3 separate regions of the Homo sapiens genome follow, and all the other regions are linked to region 2. Evidence: promoter capture Hi-C in 16 types of primary human blood cells and fetal thymus (Javierre and others, 2016). All regions are on one chromosome and are shown on one strand. The core of a region is centred on a gene start or on the middle of the fragment in contact, and the rest is flanking DNA. Distances in the headings are between cores, read along the strand shown.

The links. The method cuts DNA at HindIII sites, captures the fragments that hold promoters and counts their contacts. A CHiCAGO score of 5 or more calls a contact.
Region 1: a fragment that was not itself captured here is called in contact with the fragment with the promoter of RAB30 in region 2 in 1 of 17 cell types (total B cells); the score reaches 12.0 in total B cells.
Region 3: a contact is called between a fragment that was not itself captured here and the fragment with the promoter of RAB30 in region 2, in 2 of 17 cell types (naive B cells and total B cells). The highest score is 15.4, in naive B cells.

Annotation. Positions count from the first base shown.
Region 1 is chr11:86,245,301-86,248,477 of GRCh38, reverse strand. It overlaps EED (embryonic ectoderm development), which reads right to left. Exons shown (of 12, transcript NM_003797.5): 1 at 3,135-3,177. Among named protein-coding and RNA genes, the nearest start is that of EED, 2.1 kb to the right of the region's middle. RefSeq lists a silencer at 537-831. The HindIII fragment of the contact is 524 bases long and covers 1,358-1,881 here.
Region 2 is chr11:83,069,904-83,073,146 of GRCh38, reverse strand. It overlaps RAB30 (RAB30, member RAS oncogene family), which reads left to right and starts at 1,250. Exons shown (of 5, transcript NM_001286060.2): 1 at 1,250-1,456. RAB30-DT (RAB30 divergent transcript) reads right to left here and starts at 1,081. Exons shown (of 3, transcript NR_038903.1): 1 at 1,001-1,081; 2 at 343-524. LINC02951 (long intergenic non-protein coding RNA 2951) reads left to right here. Exons shown (of 3, transcript NR_186233.1): 3 at 451-745. RefSeq lists enhancers at 808-1,297, 3,061-3,243. The HindIII fragment of the contact is 10,527 bases long and covers 554-3,243 here.
Region 3 is chr11:86,217,420-86,220,603 of GRCh38, reverse strand. No RefSeq gene overlaps it. Among named protein-coding and RNA genes, the nearest start is that of LINC02695, 26 kb to the right of the region's middle. The HindIII fragment of the contact is 1,706 bases long and covers 668-2,373 here.

The DNA of each region.
Region 1 (3,177 bases), core at 370-2,869, 3.2 Mb before region 2:
AAATTACCTTTTAACACTAGAGAACTGAAATTTTAAAAACTCTAAGACGTTTTTATATATCAGTTTCTTTACATTCTGGCTAAACACTGAGCTGCCAATACAGAGGCCACACAAAACATTCGTTAATAGGGCACGTTGCTTATTTTACTTCTGATCACTTAATTTACCCATCTCCTCCCAAGGCAAATCAAGATGGAATCAAATGAAAATGTAATACAGCCACCATGCTTCCATTTTATCTTTAAACTAAAATCAAGTCTTTGCTGAGTGTCTAATATATGTACAGGGTGACCTCCATCCTATTCCATTCTCAAAGTAAAGAATGATACTGTGCAACAGACATGGTACTACCATCTTCACTTGCCCAACGAGGAAAGAGACACAGGGCAGTAATTTGCACCTGCATCTTGCCACAGGGATTCCCTGCATCTTTGCTTTTGCTTAAGCAAAAAGACAAGTCTCCAGATTCAGCCCTCTGATCTTACTACCAAGGCATCCATTAGTACTCTCGCAGAAGCCAACTACTCTGCAGTCATATGATCTCAAAAAGTTCAATAAAATGGCAGGTAACACAATAAATGTAAAATATGTGCCTGTAATTCTCTGACTCACATTAACAGTAGTAACTGCTCAGGTTACCTGAACTCTAACACAAAAACATATTCCCCCACACCCCATCTGCTTTGGCCTTTTGCCATTATTTGGCTCCCTCAAGAGTAAAACTATTGCCCTTATCTTTTCTAAACTCATTTTTATACAATGTTCTCTACTCCCTTACCTTACTACTGCCCCTAAGTCAGGGGTACATGGATGAAATTCAGAAGGCTTGTGAACTCAAATGGGGAAAAAAAATTGCATCTTAATTTTTGCCACCTTTAAAATTTAGCACTTCCTTCTATTATTATCTAGGTAACACATGCTTAATGTTACTGAAGTTGTGACTCTGCCACCAATGGAAATCAAGTATTTTTATATTACACTTCGAAAAAGTGTTTATACCCATCACTACTATCAGACCCGCTGCTAGATCTTGTTACTTAATGTGCTAATAAAGTACATATAGTATAGGACTACATCTAAAATTTGTTTTAGAAATATTTTATAACATGGTGTACAATTTTATAATTGAATTTGTTTGTAACCTCATATCCTGTATTTCATACATCTAAAAATGTTATTTTGAGAAGACTCTACAAGATTAAGGCTTCCAAGGCATGCGCACGCACACACACAAAATTAAGGCTATCCAAATGGAGGAACCAAAACAAAACTAATCCAATCATTTGGTCTTGAACAGCTTTAAAATTGCAGCAAAGAATATGTTTTCCTGTAAGGGTCTGCAAGAAGAAAATAAGCTTTATTTTGTCCTTTGCAAGTTTCTTCATTCTAAACAGGTCTGACAGTTTCATTATATTTTGCCTGATTATTAAGTATGTGGAAGAGCCAGAAACATTATTCTATGTAATCATAAAATTAGTAGTAGTAATTATTATAAATAAATAACATGTGTATAGTACTTACTATGGGGCAGACACTCTTCTTAGTACTTTAGCTATATTAACTCATTTAATGCTTACAAATACTCTATGAGGTAAATACCATACACCACCATCCTCATTTTTAAGAAACTAAGACAATTATGTCAGTCTCTTGCTCGAGGTCAAGCTAATAGAACAGAAATTTTAACCTATCACTTGGATCCAGCATCTGTGCTCTTAATACTCTAATCTGCCTAGAGAAATTTAAGAAAACGCAGAAATAAAATGAACGGTCTTCAAATAATAAAAAGAAGAGGGTAAAAAATGTTAGATCCCAATGTACAGTGAGATTGGGGCGCACAATCGGGTGAAAAATACAAAAGTAACACTTAACACCCAAGCTTTTCTGAAATTTGAAGTCTAAGATCCCACAAACTGACAATCCCAAGAATATCTATCTTGTCTCTGCAAAAAGAATCCTTTCCCATCTTTTCCGTGAAAATCTTAGTCATGACATCATTATATGTTTCAGCTAGGAATTATGACAGAATTTAGAAACTGCGTGTAGAAGATGTAACATTTATTCCTAAAACTAGCCAAACTGAGAAAATGAAGAACTTACGCCACTCTTCTGAAACATTTTAAGGATTTTTTAAAAGATATTCACAAGTTGTTATATATCATGAGAAGGAGAATCACATTTTGGAGTAGTATCTTTGAATAAATTGTCAAGATACTTCGTTGACCTTACTGGTTATCAACCTAAAACATGAAACTGAAAACTTATTTATGTCAATTCGGCTCTTACTGGCGAGTCAATTAAAACTCAGTTGGGTTAAATGTTGGTACCGAATGATTACGAATACCCATTTCAGAGCTTAAAAAAATCTGATTGCAAAACATCGCGCACTTGGCGAAGCCAGGAACCCACACTTAAATACATCTGCCTATACCACTGTTGCCCAAAATCTTCCAGGTCGCCACCCCCCTCACCTTTATCTTAAGTAAAAACGTTCAAAGAAGAAATCACCCACTCTTACTTCCTCAAAGGTAGTCACTCCCCACCCCCAAATCAAAAATCGATCCTCTCAATTCGGCTCCTCCTACAGAAAAGGCGACCTTCAGGCGCACCCGGTCTCCGCGGACAGGACGGAGGCGGACACAAAACCCCCTTTAATAAAGTCTCCCAAACTCCGCAAATCGAAGATCACTTTCCATCCTGAAAATTCCACAAGGGTCTTAGAGTGACAACCCTTACGCTCCTTTAACAGGGTCCCTAACTCTGCCCCGTCCTTCCAACTTTCTTAGAAAAGTCTCTAACGTGCCTTTTAAACTACTAGAATCTCAGACCCGCACTCTCCCCTTAAATCCCCCCAAAGGCCAAAACACTCCCCATCACATGCAAACTGATTTCAGGGCAGACTTCTCAGACCCACGCAATCACTAGAACCACTCTCCTTTGCCTAGTTCCTGCTTGCTCTCGGCCCCACATCAAAATCCCCGTAGGCAATTTCAATTTTCTCCCGCACGCCCGCGTTTTCCTGAGTGACACCTCTCCCTCCCCCCACAGCAGCCCGCTCGTCCCCGCGCCCCCCGTTTTAAAAGAATTTAAAACTTTCACTCCGCAGTCTCGTAACTGCCAGAAGCTGCACTTACATTCTCGTCTCCAGAGAGGTCTGGATTGCTGTTCTCGTCACTG
Region 2 (3,243 bases), core at 1-2,500:
TATTGCCAGACGTCAGAAGGCCTATCATCAATAATATCCCACCCCTCCCGCCTTTTCTGAGACACGGGCTTGCTGTCGCCCAGGCTGGAGCACAGTGGTAGGATCGAGGCTCACTGCAGCCTCAACATCCCGGGCTCAAGCGATCCTCCCACCTCAGCCTCTAGTGTAGCTGCAACTACAGGGGTACACCACCATGCCCAGCTAATTTTTTTGTTTAATGTTTTTGTAGAGACGGTACGGGGTCTCCGCATGTTGCCCAGGCTGGGGTTGAACTCCTAGAATCACGCTATCTCCCCGCGTCTGCCCCCAAAGTGCTGGGATTAAAGGCGTGAGCGACCGCACCTGGCCAATATCCCCTTTGAACATCTGCTTTCGCTGGTTGGTAAAAAAGTGTCATTTTAAATTTAGTGTTACTCCTTCAGGCTATTCCCTCTCTCTTCTTACTTGCAGGGCCAAAGCAACGTCTCTTTCCACCTTGGTCACCTTCCAACAACGATTTCTTCGGACGCCTTTGTTAATCATTCCTGTATGAAAAATCAGTGAATCTGAAGCTTTGGGGAGAGTGAAAGGGGGTTGGAAAACAAACGGCAAAACAAAAATGCATTTCGGAGGACTACCCCAACTCTGTGGGTGGAAGTGGGCTTCTCCGAATAAAGGCGAGGGTCGCCGCCTCGGGTCCTCGCACCTCAACAAAAGACACCAACTCTCTCAACTGTACTGTTAACAGATCTAAATGATACTCCAAGCCCAAAAGTAAACCGACTCTCTCAATCTCTTAGCTAAAAAATGGAGAAGGAAGCGTAGGGCCCCATGCAACCCCTTCAGGAGCTGAGACCGAGGCTCACTGGGCCTCTGGATGCCGCTTCCAGTCGGTCCCGCCCTACATCAGTCCCCAGCATGGCCTCCACCCTCTGGTTCCCAGGTTCGTGCCCGCGGCTATCCGACCAGATCGTCCTCCACCTCACCGTCCCCACTGAACCACCACTTGACTCCTGCGCACCCCTAAAACCTCTGCCCGGCTCCGCGGAATCGTCCCAGTACTCCTAACATGGCGGCCGAGTCCCCTTTGCTCCTTCACTCTGGGCGCGTCCCACTTGGAGCATTTTGGGCATTGTAGTTTCGGGGATTGCCTGGGTATCCCTTCAGGACGTAAGAAGACTACAGTTCCCAGAAAGCACCGCTCCCGAGCATGGCTATTGGGGACGTTTGGACAGAGGGATGATGTCATTGCAAAAGCCCCACTGCATTCATTGTGCTACGGTCTCTCCACCCCCTGCTGCTGCTGGGCTTGCGATTGCCGCTCGCTCCAGCTGAGCTAAGTGTAGCAGCAGCACCAGGGCAGGGACTGACTCCAGCCCTTGGACTCAGGACATCGCAGACCTTCCCTTGCGTGCGTGACTCATTCGCACATCCATTTCTGTTTATGCCTGGGGTGGGGAGAAAAATCCCAAACCAGGTGAGTTGAAGTGATTTATTCAAATGCTTCTACCAAGTTATTCCTCCCGCTTAGTTCTCAAGGCTTTCTTTTGGGAAGCTGTGAGCGGTGGGGAGGTGGGGGGGATTGGGGAGAGGCTTGCAGGCACAGCTAAGGGGAAAAGCTCTGTGCCATTTGGGTCACTGCAAAGAACAACTCCAGCAACCTTCCCCCGCCAGAGGACGGGTGCCTGCCAATTCCCTAGTCGCAACTCCTCTCAACCTTTTTGAGGCGGAGAGAGGGGGCTGGGCTGGGAAGGATGTTGGGGAGTGCTCTTGGAAAATCTGAGGAAGGCAGAGGTGGGGGACTGCAGTCCTGTCACACACGGCCCGAGAGCTGAGGTTTGAGTGGGAAGGGGTGATGCGTGGGGAGAAATGGAGACAGTGAATTAATGTGGTCGCACTACTTTAGAACATTTGAATGTCGCTTGGACGAGCACTAGTTATTAATTTTTAAGATGAACGTGCTTAAGTTTTGTAGGGCTTTATTTTATGTGTGTATGTCTATGTGGTTTGTCTCGCCTTTTCTGCTGATTTGAGGTGACAGTGTCCTTTAATGGTGCACTCCGTGCCAGTCAGAAACATTTCACGTGTCTGGCGAAGGTTCTTTCAGGCTGCTGGAAGCAGCGTTTTTGTTAAATGTTTTCCGTTCTCCGACTGCTGGATTCAAGATTGTTTGGAAGTGGAGCCGACAGATTTGTGCTTGTGTGTTTTAAATTACATTGCATAGGCTCTTTGCCACTGACAATGGTACCATAATGAGCTGCTGTTTCCTGAGGCATAGTCACTACTCACAAATAACGGTTTGAAGAGATCGATTAGGGAAGAGGGGTTCATTTTAACACATTAGAGAAAGGGAAAGTTAGAAGCGCTGTTAACCTTCATTTGCCATTACTGAAAGGTGCCCATGGAAGAGTGATTTTGGTTGTTTTGTTATTGTTGTTTTTTTAAACGAACTGACATTTAACAGGAGAGAAAGCATTCTGACTTACATGATGCTCTTGTAAGAGTTATAGGGATAATTAGGGCAATAGATATGTTACTTTGAGATAAACAGCTGGCTGGCTCCACAACAGATGGGGCCAGTCTTGGCTGAGAGATCTACACCCTTGGAAATGAATGGGCCTGGGGTCAACCACACCCCCTCTTGGAATGTCAAAAGAAGGAGAAATGCCAGAGTATTTGCTTAACTCTAGAATGCTAAACCTTTTCCTAGCTGAGTCAGACATGGGCGAAATTCTTTACTGGCTGTCTTCTGCTGCTAAGCCAATTTTGTTCATTTTAAATTCAGATCCTTAGGTCTCCAAAGTTGTAGCTGTGTGATATTTCATTAAATGCTGCTTGATGCTGAATGCAAAGGACAGTCCATTGTATGGGCTTTGTAGTAGAGTGATTTATTGGGATGCCAATGAGCAGCTTTTGGATTTGGGAAAAGATCAACAGTTAGCCTTTGCCTCTGCGTCTCTCTGTTGATGACGCTCTGCTCTTCTGGACACCCTACCCTTCTCTCCTGTACTTTCATTTCTTCCCCCCACCCCACCCCATCCCACCCACATCTCTTGAAATTCTGTTTATTTCTCTATCTCTCCATTTGCAGTTTACATTTTTCCTTTCTGTTTCAAAACCCCTCCTTTATCACCAGCATATCACATCTCTTTCTCTTCAATCTTAGAACACACTCCCTGGTCCTCCACTTCAACTAGGAACTCCTGGGTGGATGTAGACTATGTGAATATTTTTGCAGAATCCTCTTTGAAGAGAATTTCTTTG
Region 3 (3,184 bases), core at 271-2,770, 3.1 Mb before region 2:
AATAGTGAAATTAAATCAGTTTTTAGAAAAATAAAGAACTAAAGTTTAGTAAATGTGAAAAGTCCCACAAATAGAACTCCTTATTCCTTTAAAATCACGGATACAAAAGTTGTTCCTACACATATTAATCTGAACATCTGCAATTGTCATAGGTTCCAAAAACTTTAGTTTAATTCTCCAGAATCTCCTAATATCTTATTTAAAGTCATTCTCCTTTTTTTTTTTTTTTTTTTTGAGACGGAGTCCAGCTCTGTCGCCCAGGCTGGAGTTCAGTGGCGCCATCTCAGCTCACTGCAACCTCTGCCTCCCGGGTTCACACCATTCTCCTGCCTCAGCCTCCGGAGTAGCTGGGACTACAGGCGCCCGCCATTACGCCTGGCTAATTTTTTGTATTTTTAGTAGAGAGAGGGTTTCACTGTGTTAGCCAGGATGGTCTCGATCTCCTGACCTTGTGATCCACCCGCCTCAGCCTCCCAAAGTGCATTCTCCTTTTTGATTGGCATCACCTGCTGCCTTTCTCCTTTCTCACTGTATTTAGAGCAATCTTTGCCAAATGATTTTTGTGTCTTTCCAGACCATGATGTGGTTGACTAAGAATTTGTTTAAGCCTAACTATTTTTCAGTTCTTCATTTGACTCAAAAAGTAGTTTGTTGTAGAATAGAAGCTTCCCCTTGAAACAGCATATGGCAAGACCTGGAATTAAAAATAGACTTAACCACTGAAAAATTCTTCCATAAAATTAAATTAAATACGTAGTACAATTCTCTTTTACCATGTTATCCTCAATGGATAAAGATGAACTTTTCTCCTTATTAAAATTGAGAATGTTGCAGAATATTTCCATTATGTGCGAAGAAAAGAGGAACTGGCACTTATTAGCACACATAGTATGCCAGTCTCTGTGACAGGTGCAATCTGAGCGCCATCCTACCACTATGCTTGAATAGAGAGATGGTCATACAATGTCAACATGGTAATAAACTTCAGAGGTCATATAACCCACTGCTTTGGTTCTTTAGAGAAAACGCTGAGGCCCAGAGAGTAGGTTAGTGATCATTCAGTTCATTAAAAACCAAATGGGACTTGAGCTGAGTTTTCTGACACTTAGTCAGTGTTCTTTCTATAACATACTGGTATTCTCAGGAGAGAATTCGTCATGACTTATAGTTACATAGTCACCATTCTTTCCTGTATCTCTGTCTGCCCCATCTCTTTCTTCTATTTCTTCCTTTCTTTGTATTTTTTCATCTTTAACAGTAATGTTTTCTCTATTCTTAGAAAATTGGGTGTTTGAAAACAGCCCTCAACAACTTAATTCAACTTTTATCTAATGATTATTAACTGAATACTGCATCTTAGACACCGTGCTGGGTAATTGGTTGGATACAGTAAGATAATATATACAGATATAACTAAAATACAAGGCAGTGTATGATAAGAACTTTGTAAATAAGTTTTACAGGATTTCAGAGGTAGGTGTGGGGAAAGTGGCCAGTGAACTGGGCTTTTAAAGAATGGAAAAGGTTTTCATAAGGATAAGGGCTGAAGGTAGGACAATAATTTTACACAAATTGAAGAGCAGTAATAAGGATACAGAAGAAGGGAGCAACGCAAGTTGGAGAGATGTCAAGTAGAATTGTATGAGTAACAAACTGTCTTACAGGAGAAAATGGAGGACAAGGCTGAGAAACAGGCTGTTTTATTTCTGCAGCAGGGCAAGGGATCCTTCCCCTTATCAAGGCTAGAATACAAAGAAGGTGGAAGCCCCTATGACAGTCAGCTGTCATAGAAGTTGTAGATAGGTCACCTAGAGGCAGCACTGGAAACCAGCGAAAGTCAGCAATCCAGGTGACAAAAGTATCAACGAACTGGTACGAAAGCTACTACCAACTGGTACAAAAAGAACCACAGTCCAAGGAGACGCTTACTAGCACACGCCTACCTCCAGGGGGTGCTCAAGGCTTCCGTCCTTCCTTCCAAAGAAAAAAGATCTCTGAAGAGACTCCAGGACAAAATGGGGATTTCAGATATAGATGGAGGTTTTAGAGAAATGATTCTGCAGGGGATTCTGTTGAAGGAATAAAGTGGTTATAAACAGAAGTGGGCTGAGAGACTTTCCCCGTCAGTGACCTCTGGCGACTCGGCTTTTGTTAACTCTTGTAATGCTTTCATCTTTTCATCTCTTCACTGCCTTGGGATTGGTGTCTGGGACGTTCTCAAGTCAGGAGGGCAAAAGTAACCTCAGGGAGTCCACTTTGTTCAGTCCAGCTGCTGAGGCAAGAGATCTGATAGGGTTTGGAGCCCAGCATGAACTGGCAGCAAAGCATAGGCGTTTGTCCAGCGTCCTCTGTGTATGTGTTGGATGAGAAGCTTGTGCAGTCACATGCAGGATTCAGAATCCTGGCAGATTCTGAATCCACCTCCTAATTGTACAAGATTGGCATCTGGTGTGGTCTCGCAAGGGACTAAGATTTAGGAGGAAGGAAATTCATAGCAGGATTCTTGCTGCGAGGAAATCTTACCCAAACCTTTAATTAGTGATTACCAACAGGCAGAGATGGATAACTATTTCTAAAGAAAATGTACTCTTGAGAGGCTGAGACTACAAAGGCACATAGCTGCATATTTGTGAGGCTCCATCCCTTATGGTGGGAACAGAATCTGGCCTCGCCAGGAGTCACTTTTGGGACTAGAACATCCTGCCAGCAGAAGTCTGGAATTTGGAGAAATGCAAAGCCAATTGTGAGGTAGATACCTTCTCTACAAAGTAAAGATTGTGTTCTTGGACAGAGCCAGCCCTCATTTAATTTAGGAGTGAGAAGGTGGAAATGCGAGAAGCAATGGCTTGAATCTAGGATCCTGGAGAGGTGTTTAATCCGTAGGAATGAAGCAGACCTGTGAATGACATAGGGAAGAAGGGTGCCAATATCATAAATTGTTAGTTTTGTTAGTTTTAGTCCACGGTGGTGTTCAGACACAACTGTCTGGGAGGGAAGGCAGCCTGCACAGGTGTTGAACTTACCCTAGCATGTGGGTGTCAGAATGTCACAATTAAATCTTATTTTTTCTTTATACATTCAGAGAGCATTTAAAAAATTCTATTCTATGGTTCCAGTTATAGGAGTCACATTATTATTCTAGCATGCCATCTGATATTAAAATAATTTAATATGAAGGCCTATG